Regions from separate parts of the Homo sapiens genome. Here region 1 is linked to region 2. Evidence: promoter capture Hi-C in human tissues and cell types (Jung and others, 2019). All regions are on one chromosome and are shown on one strand. The core of a region is centred on a gene start or on the middle of the fragment in contact, and the rest is flanking DNA. Distances in the headings are between cores, read along the strand shown. Region 1 has its middle 63 kb from the start of LMAN1. Region 2 holds the start of CPLX4 (complexin 4).

What was found. The method cuts DNA at HindIII sites, captures the fragments that hold promoters and counts their contacts. A contact is called where the count stands out against the background at its distance.
Region 1: a fragment that was not itself captured here is called in contact with the fragment with the promoter of CPLX4 in region 2 in 2 of the 25 tissues and cell types used here (IMR-90 fibroblasts and neural progenitor cells).

What each region holds. Positions count from the first base shown.
Region 1 is chr18:59,419,883-59,424,435 of GRCh38, forward strand. No RefSeq gene overlaps it. Among named protein-coding and RNA genes, the nearest start is that of LMAN1, 63 kb to the left of the region's middle. The HindIII fragment of the contact is 4,792 bases long and covers 1-4,553 here.
Region 2 is chr18:59,317,233-59,321,511 of GRCh38, forward strand. It overlaps CPLX4 (complexin 4), which reads right to left and starts at 1,417. Exons shown (of 3, transcript NM_181654.4): 1 at 1,064-1,417. The coding sequence starts at 1,230. The HindIII fragment of the contact is 6,963 bases long and covers 1-4,279 here.

The sequences.
Region 1 (4,553 bases), core at 949-3,448, 100 kb after region 2:
CCTAGTTTAAAAAAATGCATCTCATCCCTAACTGATTTACTGAACAGTGTAAATGAGTTGGGCATCAAAACCGGATTTAACTTTTGATGAATTCACCCTCTCTTTTTTGGCTGTGGCTCCCTTCATGAAATCCTGCCCAAATTTTAACTTTCTAGGCACCTTTGAGATTTAAGACCAAGACCTGTTCATTATTAGAACCTGAGCCTTGAACTTGATTTAAAGCTTGGCTCTTCCCTGCTCCCAACCCCAGGGGGGCTGGGGCTGTGGGCCTGGCTGTTTGGAAGGAAGCAAAGGTCTGGTTCTGACACTCCTCTACCTCCTGCTTAACTGCCTCTGCTAATTCAAGCTTTTAGAGGGATGGCAAGAGGCTGGAAGAAAAGGGCCAGCTTTGGTGGCTGTGCACACATCAGAGTAAGGAACGGTCCCTGGCATTGGGTCCCTGCCTCTCCTTTCCCCTCTGTGTTCCTTCATTTTCACACATCAGGGAGTAGATGGTTGCCTCACCTTCCTCTCAGGCACAATATCCACAATCCCTTGAAGCCCTGTGAAAGAGGCTACTCCCACCAGGCCTCTGACTTCATCGGAACAAGTGTTATCTCTATGAATAAGTATGTCCCGTCTTTTCAGGGCACACATGCCAAGCACGCCTTTCTCCTTCCCCATGGTCATGGGGAGGTCTAGTGAAGAGGAGACTCTTGGATCATCCTCCCAAGAATGCTTGTGGCAGGTCTTGCTTCAGGGGCAAACAACATAGACCTGGCACACATCCAGCCAGAGAACATGCTGCCCTCTTACATTATTAAGGCACCCCAAGTTGTTATGAGTAAACTTTTGGAGCCCCCTCTCACTTGGCTTTAGGGATGGGTACCTCTCCCCTAGCCACACTCTAAGTAGGGACAGACTTGTCATCAAGAATACTGTATTTTCTGTAAGGCTGTCTACATCTCCCTCAACCCGGTCCTCTTCTCCCACAGCTGGGGTCAGGTGGGAGAGGCACAGTTCTGAACAGGAGCTGCTCACTAAGCTCCCTGGGGAGGTGGCAGCTCTCAAACTATTTGATGATGCTCACTTAAGAACATGGGGATGCTGGCTGGGCACAGTGGCTCACGCCTGTAATCCCAGCACTTTGGGAGGCCGAAGTGGGTGGATCATGAGGTCAGGAGATTGATACCATCCTGAACAAAATGGTGAAACCCAGTCTCTACTAAAATACAAAAACTTAGCTGGGTGTGGTGGCGCACACCTGTATTCCCAGCTACTCAGGAGGCTAAGGCAGGGGAATCGCTTGAACGGGAGACGGAGGTTTCAGTGAGCCAAGATCGTGCCACTGCACTCCAGCCTAGTGACAGAGCAAGACTCCGTCTCAAAAAGAAAAAAAAAAAAGAACATGGGGATGCCTAGTGCATTTTGCCCTCAGCTTTGAGTCTAAAACACAATTTTGGTTCAATAGGAAAATTCCACTTCCTGGGCAGGACTTGCAGGTTGTGAAACCCACATATCTACGCTCATAGATACTGAGCGTAGAGGAGGGAATAGGAGACCTATTAGAGGCTGTCTCTTATTGGCCAGTATGCAAAGTCACTTGCTTTTCCTTAAGAAGGGTAAAAACCAGAATAGGGGGTATCAAGGATGAAGAATCCAGTTGCAAATTGTAAAATAAAGATTGCTCAGCAAACTTCTGTAAGGAAAAAGAAATAAAAAGGAGATGGGGCTTCAGTATGTACCAGTACAGATCTGTGACTTCATTCACTAGATTATAATCTATGTATAAATAAATGTACAATCCCATTAAGACAGGGACAAGTGCTGACCATAGTATATGAGAGCATTCAATACATATCTGTTAAATAACTAAGTGAATGGAAGTAACTGAGGGCCACTGGTGGCTGTATCTTTAGCAACCGCTTGCTTTCTGTTAACATCTTCTGAGCACTTAATATGCACCAAGTACTGCTGTAGGTCTCCAGCAACTATGAAGATAGTTAACTCTTGTCCTTAAGTAGTTTGTGACTAAGGGTAGGAGACAGATTGGCACAACTGCCTACAAATAAAACCTCCAGATTCCATTTGGGAGAAAGCAAGGACCCTGTCTTTGAAGTCAGAAAGGAGTGGGAAATGGGGAAGCCCCTGGTACAGCTAGCTCCTACCTGGACACAGCCCTGATCCAAACTGTTCCAAATGAGGTGGAATTCACGTCTTCATGTTCCCTAGTATGATGCGAGGGTCACCCAGCTAGTAATGGAAGTGACTCAAAAACCATGAAATTCACAATGATGGTGGTGGAGAGACCATTCATTGTATTACAGGAGAAGGTGCTTTTGAGAGAACAAAGCTCCTGGGTTGTTTCAGCTTATTTTACAATTCCACCCTCTTCCCTGGAATCTAGCTATGCCCAAGTTTAGCTCTGAGATTAATTCTATCTTCCTCCTCATTATATTTCACATATTCCCTCAAAATTGCTTTGTTTGGGCCTTAATATGGAGTCAAGTGACTAACTTCTCCATGTACCTGCTGGTTAATGGATGAACCTACTCTTGTAACTGAAAGCTGTAACCTGAGTGAATGGTACCTAAGCAGTGGAATGCGTGGTGAGAATTTCAGACTTGAGGCAGACACTGGAAGGATTGTCAATTGCAACAAGTTTCCTCAGGCCCCTTCCATGCAGCCAGGATCCCTCACACCATCCTTTTATCCCCGAGGGACCCCAGAGCAAATTTCTCCTGAGAATAGTACTCAGATTTCTTGGCCTCAGTGGGGACTTCTGGAATCAAGTAAAAGGCATGAAAGAAACTGAAGTGCCTGAGGGAGGGATGCCTGTGTACCTCTTTGCAAGATAAGTGTGTGTGTGTGGGGTGAGGGTAGTATAGCAGCAGCCCCCAGTACCATCTGACCACAGATAAGCTACCAAGGTGAAACTGTGAGTCCAGTAATCACGGGATTAGCAGAGGAAGGCTTAGATGCAATGAAGTTGCTGATTACTCCACAAAGACTTAGCAAGAAAAGTTCTCTACACAGATCACAGATTTTATCCTTGGTAGAAAGGTGCCTATGTAGCTGGAAAAGCCAATAAATACCTGGGGGCTAACTTCATTTATTTGGAACACACATAATCTCAGCAACCCAAAGACCTTCATCCCACTTCATGTGAATATTGACATGCAAAGTCTGTGTCAATCTGGCTGGTAGTATTGGATCTCAGTGGTCAATAGCCACATAGAATAAGCCCTGAAGGAAAAATGTATTTGGCTGGTATTCTTGGAAGGCTCTTTTGAAGGGACCACTTTTTGAAATGTTTTCCAGCTGTTATTTCCTTTCTGAATAATCTGAGCCTAATTCGATTTGTGCACCTTTTTCTTTTCCAGAAGGCAAATTACCCGCCTATGAGTAGTTGTGTATATGATCTGCTGGTTTTGGCTGAGAGTTTTACAGAACTGTAAATAAATGACCCTGTCAGTACATGGGAGAAGTGTTCCTTTCACATTACATGGTCCTGCAATTACATGGTATGATGGCAGTTAGTAAGATTCTGTGTATCATCTCCAGAGCCCTGGGGTAAAAAGGTCTATAGCCATGTCCAAGATGGGTTGGGGCAGATCCAGCAGATTACGTTACTGTGAGGGGGTGGTGGGGAACACAGCCAAGAACGTCCATGGGTTACATTTTTTTTAAACCCAACAAAACTTGACTTTGGAAACTGTTCTGTCCACATACATCACAAAAACTATTTGTAAAGCAAAAAATGACTATAGATACAACTCTGCCTCTGATTTAATCATTTTTCCCACCCAGCTCTCATCCCCAGTGTGGTTGTGATGCTACAGACAGAAGAGGATAAGAAGCCACAGAAAACAGGCTGGAGGAGAAGTGCGGATTCAGCACATAAGTTGTCACTTCGCCAGAATCGATGAGAATCAGGAGTCCCTGAATCGCCTGGGGATGCTGGTGAAAGCGACACCATGCGGGAACAGGTGAATGAAGCTTACCTGGGTCAACGTGCTGCATGGACGTCATTTCTGCCCTCCCACCTGGGGAACCAGCCTCCAAAATATTAGCAACTTGAGGCAAGGCCAGGGCCCATGCTGGGGAGGGAGTCACCTTCCCAGTCTCCCTACCCAGAATCTCCCTCCAGACATCTTCTTCCCCTGTAGCAGCTATCAACTTGTTGCCTGCTAACATGTTAATGGAGAGGTAAGGCTTAAGATGTGCCATTTCCCAGGGAAACTATGTTTTAAATCATCAAAGACATAGGGATTAAATAATTGAGACATAATAGCCATATGTGAATTCCTGATGCTTGTCAGAGTTCTAAATTAATCTAATTTTCTCCTGCTCCCATCTAAAGTCCAGAACACATGCTCCTGTGGGAGGGAAGACTTTGCTACTCACGGTGTGGTTCCCAAACAGCAGCACTGAAGGCAAACCTCAGACCCCTGAATCAGAATCTTCACTGTCATAAAATCCTCAGATGGTTCCTATGCACAAAGAAGTTTGAGAACATCAGTCTAAGCAAGTGGTTTTCAAACTGTGGGCTGCTACCCGAGAAGTCAATTTAG
Region 2 (4,279 bases), core at 167-2,666:
TAGGCAACTATTATGTAATTGATCATTAGCAAAAGAGTCCTGGTGGCAAAAAAGAAATACTTTTCTTTTGAAACATATGATAAACATTTAACCTCTAGATTGATGTTTCATTTCTTAACTGATTATTAAAAGAATCTTAATTCTACCTTAAACATTTAAAAATTACACAGAGATTACATTTATTTCAGAATCAGTCTTCAAGTGGTGAAAAGTTGTTGGTGATATTCACATTCTATAATACCCAATTAAATGTTGCTTATATTTTATATTTTATTTTTGTTATATTTTATATAGCCAAGAAAATGCCTTTATTTTTTGGAGGAAGGTGGCTGAAGTATTTGGGGGTGAAGTACATGACATCTGTAATTTACTTTAAAAGCTATTATCTACCATCTATCTTTTTAATCTTTAAGCAAATGTAGCAAACTGTAAGCTGTTGATTTTATGTCATAGGTATATGTGGGTATTTGTCCTACTATTCTACTTTTCTGTATGTTTAGAATTTCCATATTAAACAGTCCACAAATCCATTCATAGTCTTTGATAAGCCAAGTCTTATGACATAATTGTCATGTTATGCTTCCTGGGTTTTTTTTTTTTTTCTCACATGCAAGATCAAAGAAGCTGCCCTCTATGTTATTTTAGGCCCTTTTCTAGGTATAAGGTCTGAATTCTTACAATTTGAAGACTTTCTACGTGCTAAGAGGGTGAAGTTTAGAAAGAATGTAAAGATAGTTAAACCTACCACTTTTCATCTAAATAATTAAATTGAGGTCAATCAAAACATGCCTAGACCAGAAAGTGTTAAGCTGCTTTAAGAACAACATATAGATTCATTTATTATTGTTCATTTCCATTCATACATGTAGAACATAGAACATAGTAGCTGCTGATGTTAGGGAACCGTTTACTTTAGAAGAACAACCTTTCCTTGGGTTAGAGGTAAACGGCAAAAGGAAAGGCATCTTAAAAAGCAAAGAGAAATAAACTGGAGAACTGAAGAAGGTATGGCCAGAATGAATTTCCTTTGCTTTTTAAGGGAAATGAAATAGCATGTACTCACTTCTCCTCAATCATTTGCTTTTGATACTCCTCATACTCCTCTCTAGTCATCCCTTGAGCTGCTGCAGGATCAGATGCACCTCCTTCTTCTTTATTTTCTTCAGACCCACCACCAAATCCTAAATTCTTTACCTGGTTACTTATCATACTTTTCATAAGGAAAGCCATTTTCTCTGCCCCAGAAAAATAAAACCAAAATTCAGACAAAAGCTGAAAAAAAAAATCCAAACAAACCCAAGAGAAAACCTCCAAATATTCTCAATGACAGCAATACATTTAAGAGCAAAGGACTTTGCACAACCTCATCTATTCAAGGGCATACTGATAGAGAAGAGTGGTTTGTCGGCCGTAAGCTGGATTAAAGTGGTGAACTCCTTAGTATATAGAGGCAGATGGTTCAGATTACCGAAGCATACAATCAGAGGCAACTGCCTACCTTCTGAATTAATACACTCAGCTAATTTCACAGGAAAAAGAAATCCCCACATCATCTACCCCTTTCTAAATTTTTAATTATAAGCACAGCAGGGCTTCATCAAGAGTCCTGTTTCAATTAAATTAATCAGAGCTGACTGATTATATAGCTGTTGTGGAATTTCCAAATTCCAGCCCTTGAGCAAAACATCCTGTTGAAAAACTGAGTCCAATGAGACTCAAAACCCAGAATGCTTCATTAAGCAAAAATAATCCTTTCGATCCATCATTTTATCTCATTGGACTTTAAGTACTATGCAAGGATTTGCTTTTTAGTTTGCTTGAATTCGGTTTGCTTCAATAGTTACTGTGTCCCGCACATAAATACACAACTGACAAATGCAAAGACCCAGACAGCAGGTCCTTGGTTTACATCTGGAAGATTATCTTAGCCTTCTCCTGCATGGAAATATTACTTGTCTATATGGAAATGATGTGCTTGACACTTCAAGGCTCTGATCCAGAAGGTAAGACCATTATGTGAGTCAAATCATCAATATGTAAGGGGTCACCTTTTTTCTCTTGCATAAAGAGTGCACCTCCTGGGTGCTCTATTTAAGCTCACTGGTGTACTTGGATGAAACTGACAATGTTTTGTATCCCACCAGATTCTCTATGGCTGTGGTTTTCTTCAGGTCAAGGGAAGAGTTGAGTATGGCTAAGACTTCAATCTACACTAGTATCTTTCTAATTAAAGCCTGCCAAAGAGGGTGGGGTGGGAAGGAAGAGATGTAATCCATTGTTATTTTATCTGAAGGCATGAGTCCTCTCAGAAACCAGGTGATTATCTCTCTGATCATATAGAATTACATAATCTGGATTCTTGCCTAAAATGCTTGCTTTATATATTTTATCGTCTGCTTTCCCTTTTAGTAATCTATTTTAAAATGCTGCTTAAATGGTCTCAATATGAAAGGCTAAAAAAGATAATTTAGGGTGAAATATAAGCTGTACTCAGGGCTTCGAGGAGAATGCCCATCAATATTGAGTTCCACTTTCTCTTTTAGATGGGTTGCTTGGAACTTAACACGTTCATACCATTATCTCTAAATTACCATTTATAATAAACTACATTGCAGTCCACTGAGGAATGTTACTAATTAATGTTGTCTCATAGAACTTTTCAAACCATAAAATAAAAGCCACAGCCTTGTGTTTCTGTCTGTTCGGTCTACATTTTATTATAAGTAATTATTTAGATTTATTATAAAATCTATTCTAAAAATTCCATTGTATGAGGAATTAGGAAATATTAATGGTGAGGGTGTCAATTCTAAACTCCAGCACCCATGTGTAAAGGAGTTTCTCCCTGTCCCGTCCTTTTCTGAATGTATGTTTGTGTGGAGGGGGTTAGGAAGAGGGGGTGTCATGCATTATGGGGACTCTTCGGTGGTAGCTTCAGCAGGGTCGCCGTGGAAGGTCTCCTGAGAGTGCTTTATGAAATCAAATATCTTATTATTTCCTCAACAGGTAATTCCATTGAGAATGAGGTCACGACTTAAAAAACTTTTTACTCCTTGATTTATTACAATGACCTTTGCCCTTGGACATCCAGGAACTACTAGCTGGTGTGTAGGATCTTTTTTTTTGGAGACAGCCTCACTGTGTTGCCCAGGCTGTAGTGCAGTGGCAGGATCTCAGCTCTCTGCAACCTCCGCCTCCTGGGTTCAAGCGAGTCTCCTGCCTTAGTCTCCCGAGTACCTAGGATTACAGGCATGCGCCACCATGCCCGGCTAAGCTTTTGTATTTTTGGTAGAGACAGGGTTTTGCCATATTGGCCAGGCTGGTCTTGAACTCCTGACCTCAAGTGATCTGCCTGCCTCAGTTTCTCAAAGTGGTGGGATTATAAGTGTGAGCCACCAAGCCTGGCTGTAGAATCTTGTAGAAATGGTGGTAGAATCTTCCGTTCCTTCAGAAAGGGGAAATGAATGCCCTGGATTCATGAATGGGACCTCTAGGTGTCCCCATCCCATGGCTCCCTACTGTCCTTGCATAGAATCCCCACTCCTTGCTGCAAGATTGCCCACTGCCTAGCTGCCAGCCTCTTCAGCCACACTCCCTTTGCTCATTCTAATCACATTCATGTCCTTGTTGGCCCTTAAACCAAGATTGCTCCCACCTATGTCCTTGTGGAACCTCCTGGCCTGTATTGCTCTTCCACATCTCTAGGTGGCTCACCCTTGCTTAATTCAGGTTTCTGTTCTCATTCACCTTCTTAGAGGGACTTCCCTGACCATCCTAAGATACCCTGCCTCCACTACCCCACCTTTTAATCCTCTATCCTATTCTATTTTTCTTCATAGTACTGCACTCTACCTGAAAGTATATTTTCCTTGATTTAGTTGTTTCCTTTCCATCTACTCCATTGGAATGTAAGCTCCATAAGAGAGACCAGTGCAATTTTGTTCACCTTTGCATCCCCATCTCTGAGAATCATGCTCAGCACATAGTAAGTGATCAATAAGAATCTTGGGGGAAAACAATGAATGAATGATTGCCACTAGGCCTAATGGCTTATTTTTGAGCAAATCGCTTTCAATGGAAGTAATCAAGGTACTACATCGGATGATGGAGGCACTTGGAGAGTTATCTTCAGGCAAAAGGGAGACAGGAGAATAGGGTCTGGGGGCAGGGAACCTAAGGCCAATTCATGCTGACTTCCTAGAACTAAATTAAAAGGAAAACCCCAACTTTCCACACCTAAGTAACAAAAGGACTGGAAGCTACTTCCTTACTCCCTTTG